Linked DNA regions of Homo sapiens: region 1 is linked to region 2. The links are contacts of gene promoters, found by promoter capture Hi-C in blood cells and fetal thymus (Javierre and others, 2016). All regions are on one chromosome and are shown on one strand. Each heading gives the region's core, a stretch centred on a gene start or on the middle of the fragment in contact. The rest is flanking DNA. Distances are from core to core; before and after follow the strand shown.

What was found. The method cuts DNA at HindIII sites, captures the fragments that hold promoters and counts their contacts. A CHiCAGO score of 5 or more calls a contact.
Region 1: a contact is called between a fragment that was not itself captured here and the fragment with the promoter of SLAMF7 in region 2, in 1 of 17 cell types (total B cells). The highest score is 7.3, in total B cells.

The regions. Positions count from the first base shown.
Region 1 is chr1:160,775,915-160,779,517 of GRCh38, reverse strand. LOC105371470 (a long non-coding RNA gene) reads left to right here. Exons shown (of 3, transcript NR_188636.1): 2 at 2,870-3,199; 3 at 3,304-3,603. Among named protein-coding and RNA genes, the nearest start is that of LY9, 18 kb to the left of the region's middle. RefSeq lists enhancers at 1,666-1,735, 2,056-2,105. The HindIII fragment of the contact is 4,063 bases long and covers 1-3,286 here.
Region 2 is chr1:160,736,778-160,740,496 of GRCh38, reverse strand. It overlaps SLAMF7 (SLAM family member 7), which reads right to left and starts at 1,250. Exons shown (of 7, transcript NM_021181.5): 1 at 1,141-1,250. The coding sequence starts at 1,195. It overlaps LOC124904440 (a long non-coding RNA gene), which reads left to right and starts at 1,338. Exons shown (of 2, transcript XR_007066687.1): 1 at 1,338-1,414. The HindIII fragment of the contact is 11,353 bases long and covers 1-3,719 here.

The sequences.
Region 1 (3,603 bases), core at 6-2,505, 39 kb before region 2:
GTGAAAACATATGAAAGTGCTTTGGAAAGGCCTATGCAGATGCAGAGGGATGCTCTTATCAAATTCCTTAAAGAAATTTAAAAAATCTTAGCAGGAGAAACTACAAAGGAAGCAATGGGGTGGGTATCAAGCACACACAGCACCGAGAAAGGCCTATGAAAGATGCTACGCTGAGCCACTTTGAGATTCAGACAGTTGATTATTCATATAACGAATGGAAGAGTAGCCAAGGGTTCCAGATCCCTGGGCACTTGTCCCACACCAGAAAAGATGACATTGAAACAAAAGGGGCCAGATGGCTGCAGTGGGAGCTGTGGAATACCCAGATGCCGAGGGGCCAATTCTACCTTCAGCAAAGAGGACTTAGAGACCGCAGCTGTGTTCTGAGGACAAGAAGTCCCATACTGCATCAGAACCCCAGGAGCCAGGGGAAATAGTCTCATGACAGCCTCCCAGGGGAGATGGCTTCAAGGCTGTGCCTCACAGGCCACCTGAACTCTCGTGTTCTGGGTGGATCACAAGGCATTTTGCCAAGACCCAGTTTAGCAGAGGTTGAAACCTTTGCCTGAGAGAGATGTGCAAGGTCTCAGGGTGCTATGGCAGAGCCGTTCCCCTGCAATGAGCGAGGGGGACAGGTGGTGAGTGAGGATGGACATGGGAAGGCCAGCAGAGAACCTTCACAGACATTTTTCTTGGATTCTGTGATAGGAAATCTTCCTATTAGACGAAGGCACTCTTTTAGTGGAGTTGATGGGGCTGCTCTCTGGTCAGGTCCACATGGCTGGGGAGAAGGCGTGTCTGCCATAAATCAGGCCTGGGCTGGCTATGGCCTGCTTCTCACAACAGGACCAGGGCACAATGGAAGTGGGTTGCTGGGACTTGGGGTTGGGTTGCTCACTAGGGTAGGGTGGGCCCAAAACTGGTGGGAGAGGCCCTTTGGCCTCGCTGATAGTCATTCTGATAGCACTTACTTAGTGTGGTATGGTGTCAGGTGGAGTCTGGGTAGAGGATAGGGTTGTGCCAATCCATCAGGGGTGGGGTCTTCCAGAGAGCCCTTCTCTCTCTGGGTTGACATCCCAATGGCAAGGCAGTGCTAATGGTCAGGCTCCATCCTTCACAGGGTGTTTCCCATCACTGCAGCCTCACAACAGCCCTGCCAGTATGCAGGTCAGGAGTTTTCATTTCTAGGAAGGAAACGGAATCTTAGAAAGGGAAAATAAGACACCTATGACATGGAGCTAGAAAGTGGCAGATTTGGGAATCGAACTCAGGTATTCTGATGCTGTACCCTGTGCCTTCATTCTCTGGGTTTCTGGTATGTCGCCATATTTATTGGATGAGAAAAGGGCCAATAGAAGTCAAGTGGCTTGCATCCCAGGGCCTGATATATAGGAGACACAGTGGGGAGAGCCAGCAGCAAGGTACCCACCTGTGGGGATGTCCAGGCTGCCTTCTCCTGGGGGACACGCTGGGCCTGTGTGGTCCTACTTTGCACAGTTGAGTTTCCCCTGGGGCTGCAGTCGTGTGGGCCACAGGGCTGAGGCTGAGTAGCAGAGTAGCCTTGTTCTATGCAATATGACTTTGTTGAGTGTTTCAGGCCTGGTGTCTGCAGCTGCTCTTCTCGCCTCCCCCAAATCCTCCTGGGTCTGGCCTGGGAGGCTGGTGGACAAATAATGGCAATGTGGACACCTCGAGCACTTAAGAATATCTGGGTCATGGCCCTGGGGCAAGAGGAGACGGGGAGCAGGTCCAAGGGAGTGCAAGGGAGTGGGAGAAACCTCAAAGGCACACAGCCACCTCCTCTGGGACTCTTGATCAACACCTGGAAGCTCAGTGTATGCTGCAGAGCCCCCTACGGGGAAAATATGTAATTACAACACAGCTCCGTACTTGCATTCCTTTATCTATTCAGGGCAGGGTTGGGAAACTCAGTTTTGGGCTCAAATTCACTGGATTTGGATTTTGGCTTTACCACTTAACTAGATGAGACTTTGGGCAGGTTATCTAAGCATTCTGAGCCTGTGAAATGGAGTTGATATAACATCTTCCCTGTTTAGTTCATGGAGTTGTTCTGGAAATCAACTGAGATGTTAAGTGACATGGCCTTACATAGCACAAAGTTCTGGAACAGATGTGGGCAGATCCTGCCTCTGCTGTTCCTTCTGTGTATTCAAGGTGATGCAAGGTTTGGGCACTAATGCCGTGCATTTTCTGTCCTGTGAAGTGGAGGCCCAGAGCAGTTTCCCAGTCCTCAGTTTATTCCCTTTCGCACACACAGAGCAGCTGGCCTGGCCTCATGTCACACTGAGCTCCAGGATTAGTGAGGATGGATGCTGCATTGTCACTCTCATATGCCATTGACATGTGTGGCAGAGAGCAGAGGAGGCAGTGTGACTTACAGCTGGACACCCCTGGGACCCCAGACTGTTGTTGTGTCCTGTGGAGGGTCTGTCCTCAGTGTCTCCTTGAGGCTTGGGGACAGTGCTCTAACTTTTACCTGCATGGTCAAGAACCCATTCAGTAACAGCAGCTCCCACCCTATCTCAGTGCCTCACTTCTGCATATGTACCAGGCTCCTCAGTCTGCCCAGGGGCCTGAGCAGCTCTGGGGTTGACAGGGAGGGTGGAAGAAGAAGTCCTGGTTCCCTTCAGACCCTGGGGCAAGGGGGCTAACACCATTGGGAGGGTGGGAGTCTGGGGTGGGTGGGTGTTGGTCTGTGTGGTCATGGCAGTGGGAGGAGAAGACCCACTGGAGCTGGTGGGGAGGCTGGAGGGACTCACACAGGAGGAGCTGGATGGAGCCTGTGGCTTTCCTGACTAGGTGGGGAGACACTGACACTGAGGTTGTGGGTTCTCTTCTTTGTCTACAGGGTCAGGAACACTGGGAGAAGATACAGTGGGGAAGATATCCTTGGGGAGTTGGCCACTTGGCCCCTGGAGGTCCCAGCAGAGCAAGAGGTAGAAAGTGTTACATGGAGCTCTTGAGAGCGTGTTGCTGTTTTACAACAAGGATGAACAGACAAACCAGTTCTGGTTTCTGAGACTCAGGGACCCTACAGTGGATGACTGAACATTCCCCACCACAGCTACTCTCTTCAGATCAGCCCCCTGAGGCTGCAGGACTATAAGCCTATAAGCCTGGGTAACTCTGCATACTTCCTCAATCATTATCACCAGGGATTTCACCCTGCTTGTCTATGGTAAGGAGGGCTGGAGGGCCCCACATTTGAAACTGAGCTTTCCTCTACCCTGTTTGGCCAGACCAGAGCCTTCTCATAGCTCAAGCTTTCCCTTCTTGGTTCAGAGATGCTGTAGGAGTTGAACATCTTTGCCAGCTCCCAGATCATGAAGGATGGGACCTGCTTCATCACCCTGGCCTGCTCCCTGGAACAGGCTGGAGAGAATGTGCAGAACAGCTGGGAGCCTCCTAGTCATGGGGCAGTTGTGTCCCATGGGGGGACCACTCTCAGTGTCCCCTGGATATCTGGGGAAAGTGAGAGCTATCACTGCACTGCCAGGAATCCCACCAGCCAGAGCTCCAGCTCTGTCCTTACCAGACCCCTTTGCTCAGGTAATGTTTTTCCTTCTCTGACTCTCTTCTTCC
Region 2 (3,719 bases), core at 1-2,500:
GGTACACTACACAGGCTGCCTCTGGAGGAGGGCAGAGGGGGACCTGCATGGCAGTTTTTCATACTTGTGCTCTTTCGCTGACTGATTTCAGATGGACACCTGTAGCTTTCAAAGTCTCTATAATTTTCCCCAACCCCTCCACCTTATCTCCCTCAAGTTCTATTTCTGCTCATCATTTCCGTTCAGGGAGTTTTTTTTTTGTTTTTTTTTTTTAAAGTGAGGGCCTATTCCAGAACCACCTGGTTAGACCCAGGTACCTCTCAAAAATACAAACTTCTGATGAATTCAAAGTGGGTAAGAGTCTGCTGATGCTGACCACTTAGCGATGCAGGGGAAAATATTGGGGGCACCAGCTGCCTGCGTGGTCTTGGGCAGATCACTCCAGGCAGGCTCAGATACACATAATGAAGCAGTTATGTGAAGTCCTTATAGGGGGACCTCATGGTAGTACTCCATGAGATTGATGACAGAAGAGATATTTCTCACTTATAGGGCTCCTGATCCTTTCTGAGAGCCCTTAGGATAGAAAAATCTTCAAAGACTAGAATACCAGTGACAGGTGGAGAACTGTCCTCTGTCCTCCATGGGATTAAACATAAAGTGCCTATGGTATGAGTTGGTTCTCTAAGTAGAGACTGATTACATTGCTTGAGTAAGGAAAGAAAATTCAAGTGATTCTTTCCATTTATATTACTGTTATGCATAACCAATTTTATAAATACATTTATAAGTAAATAAATACATACCTGTATAGTATCATCTTGTTCTTAAAGTTGCCCTCAAAAGGAGAGAAGGCTAGAAGATAAAGTTTCTGAGGCCCAGGAAAACTTTAACATTCCTTATCTAACTCATGGCAGAACCTGGATTAGAAAAATGGTCTCTGATACCCAGCACCACTTCTTTCAGCTCCTTCATCCCTGGGACAGTCAACAGGGGAGTCAGTTCCCAGAGCCATTTTTCCCCCTCTCTCTAGTCTCTTCCTGACCTGAGAATCAGAGATCAGAGATTGATAAAAAGCAAATGTTAGATGAGAACACAGAGCCTCCCGAGTTGAGCCAGAGGCCCAGAGTGGAACAAGAAACCTGGAACTATTCAGGATGGGGTAGACAGGAGAGTGGAAGAGAATCCGGCCGGACTCACCTGTGAGCTGCCAAAGGATATAGATGAGGGTGAGGCATGTTGGGGAACCAGCCATATTGCTCTCTGGAAGTCAGCCACTGAAATGAAGCCACTTCCCTCTTAGGTATTACTCAGACCTCTTCCCCAGCTGATATTTAAAGAAGCAGGAGGGGTCACGCCGCAGACATGTGAGATTGAGTAATTGCTAAATTATTTTCAGAGTGAATAGAGCATTTTACCTTGCCACCAGCAATCTATGAGAGATCTATTTGCTCCCCATCTTCATCAGCATTTGGTATATTCCCATTTTATATTTTAGCTGTTTTAATAGGTGCTGTAGTGATACCTCATTGTGGCTTTAATTTGCATTTCCCTAAAGCCTAATAATGTTGAACATCTTTTCATGTGCTTATTTGCCATCTATATATCCATATCCTCCTTGGTGAAATGTCTATTTATGTCTTTTGTCCATTTTATAATCAGATTCTTTATTTTTTTTACTGTTGAGCTTTGACAATTCCTTATATGTTCCAAGTATAAGAGTCATTTGTCAGATATGTGGTTTACAAATATTTTCTCTTGGTCTGTAGCCTGTCTTTTCATCTTCTTAACGGGGTCTTTGGCAGAGCAAAAATTTTAATTTTGATGAAATTCAACTTATCAGTTTTTTTTCTACCCACACTAGGGTCCAAAGGTTTTCTCCTGAAAGTTTTATAGTTTTATGTTTTACATTTAAATGTATGATCCTGTTTTAATGTAAGGTGTGAAGTTTAGGTTGAGATTCACCTAAATATATTGTCTATATTCATTGAGAACCATATCAGGTAATATGGTTGACAGTTTTTTTTTGCTTTCGACACTTGAAAAGTGTCATGACACTCCTCCCCTCCATGGTTTCCAGTGAGAAATCAGCCATCATTTAAATTGTTTTCCCTATAGGTAATGTGTCATTTTTCTCTAGCTGTTTTAAAAGTTTTTTGTTTGCCTTTGGTTTTCAGAAGTATGATTACAATGTGCGTGTTTTTTTTTCTTCTGCCTGTGGGTGTTCAATTGTTCTACTACCATGTGATGGAAAAGATGATCTTTCCTACATTGAATTACTTTTGTATCTTTATCAAAAATCAGCACTTATACTTGTGTGGGTATATTCTGGAGCTATCTATTCTATTTAACTGACTTACATAATGTAATTATTTATATATCAGAGCTTAAGTTTGCCATGTTATTATTTTCTCTTTGTTCTTCTGGGCTTTTGTTTGTTTATTTTGTTCCTCTGTTTCACTTTCCTGGCCATCCTGTGTGTTACTGGAATATTTTTTATAATTCCATTTTGATTTATCTATAATGTATCTTTTTGAAGAGTTTTTTTACTGGTTGCTGTACATATTGCATTTTACATACATAACTTTTGATCTACCTATCAGTGTTGACATTTTACCAGTTGAACTAGGTATAGAAAACTTACCTATATTAGGTTTCTTTATTAGTCTATCTTTATACTTGTCTTAAATATATTGTCTATATTCATTGAGAACCATATCGGTAAGATTATAAGTTTTGCTTCAATTGTTGAACATAATTCAGAACACTCAAGAGGAGAAGGACAATCCATTACATTTACCCATATTTTAACTCTTTTCATTGTTATTTCTTTATTTCTAATGTTTCAAGTTTCCTTCTTTTTATTTTTTTTTGGACGAAGTCTTGCTCTGTCATACAGGCTGGAGTGTAGTGGCATGATCTTGGCTCACTGCAATCTCCGCCTCCTGGGTTCAAGCGATTCTCCTGCCTCAGCCTCCTGAGTAGCTGGGACTACAGGCTCATGCCACCATGCCCACCTACTTTTTGTACTTTTAGTAGAGATCAGGTTTCGCCATGTTGGCCAGGCTAGTCTCAAACTCCTGACCTCAGGTGATCCACCAACTTTGGCCTCCCAAAGTGCTGGGATTACAGGTATGAGCCACCACACCCAGCCTTCAAGTTTTCTTCTTTAATCATTTCTTTCTGTTTCAAGATATTCTTTAGGAATTCTTTTATGATAAGCCTGCTGATAACAAATTATCTTAGTTTTCCTTCACCTGAGAATGTCTTGATTTAACCCTCATTCCTGGGTATAAAATTCTAGGTTGACAGTTTTTTTTCTTTCAACACTTGAAAAGTGTCATGACACTCCTCCCCTCCATGGTTTCCAGTGAGAAATCAGCCGTCATTTAAGTTGTTTTCCCTGTAGGTAATGTGTCATTTTTCTCTAGCTGTTTTAAAAGTTTTTTGTTTGTCTTTAGTTTTCAGAAGTGTGATTATAATGTGTCTTGGTGTGAATTTCTTTGGGTTTCTCTTATTTGTGATTCATTGAGTCTCTTGAATCTGTAGGTTTTTACCTTTTGCTAAGTTTGGGGAAATTTCATTATTTTTTGAATACTTTTTTTTCAGCCTCACATTCTCGCTTCTCTCCTAAAATTCTGATGACATGAATGTTATAAATCTTTTGTTTTTCTCCCACAGGGCTCTGAGGCTCCATTTTTTTTTTTTTTTTTTTTTTTTTTTGGCCTATTTTCACTCTGTTTTCAGATTGGGTATTTTCTATTGTTTATCTTCAAGTA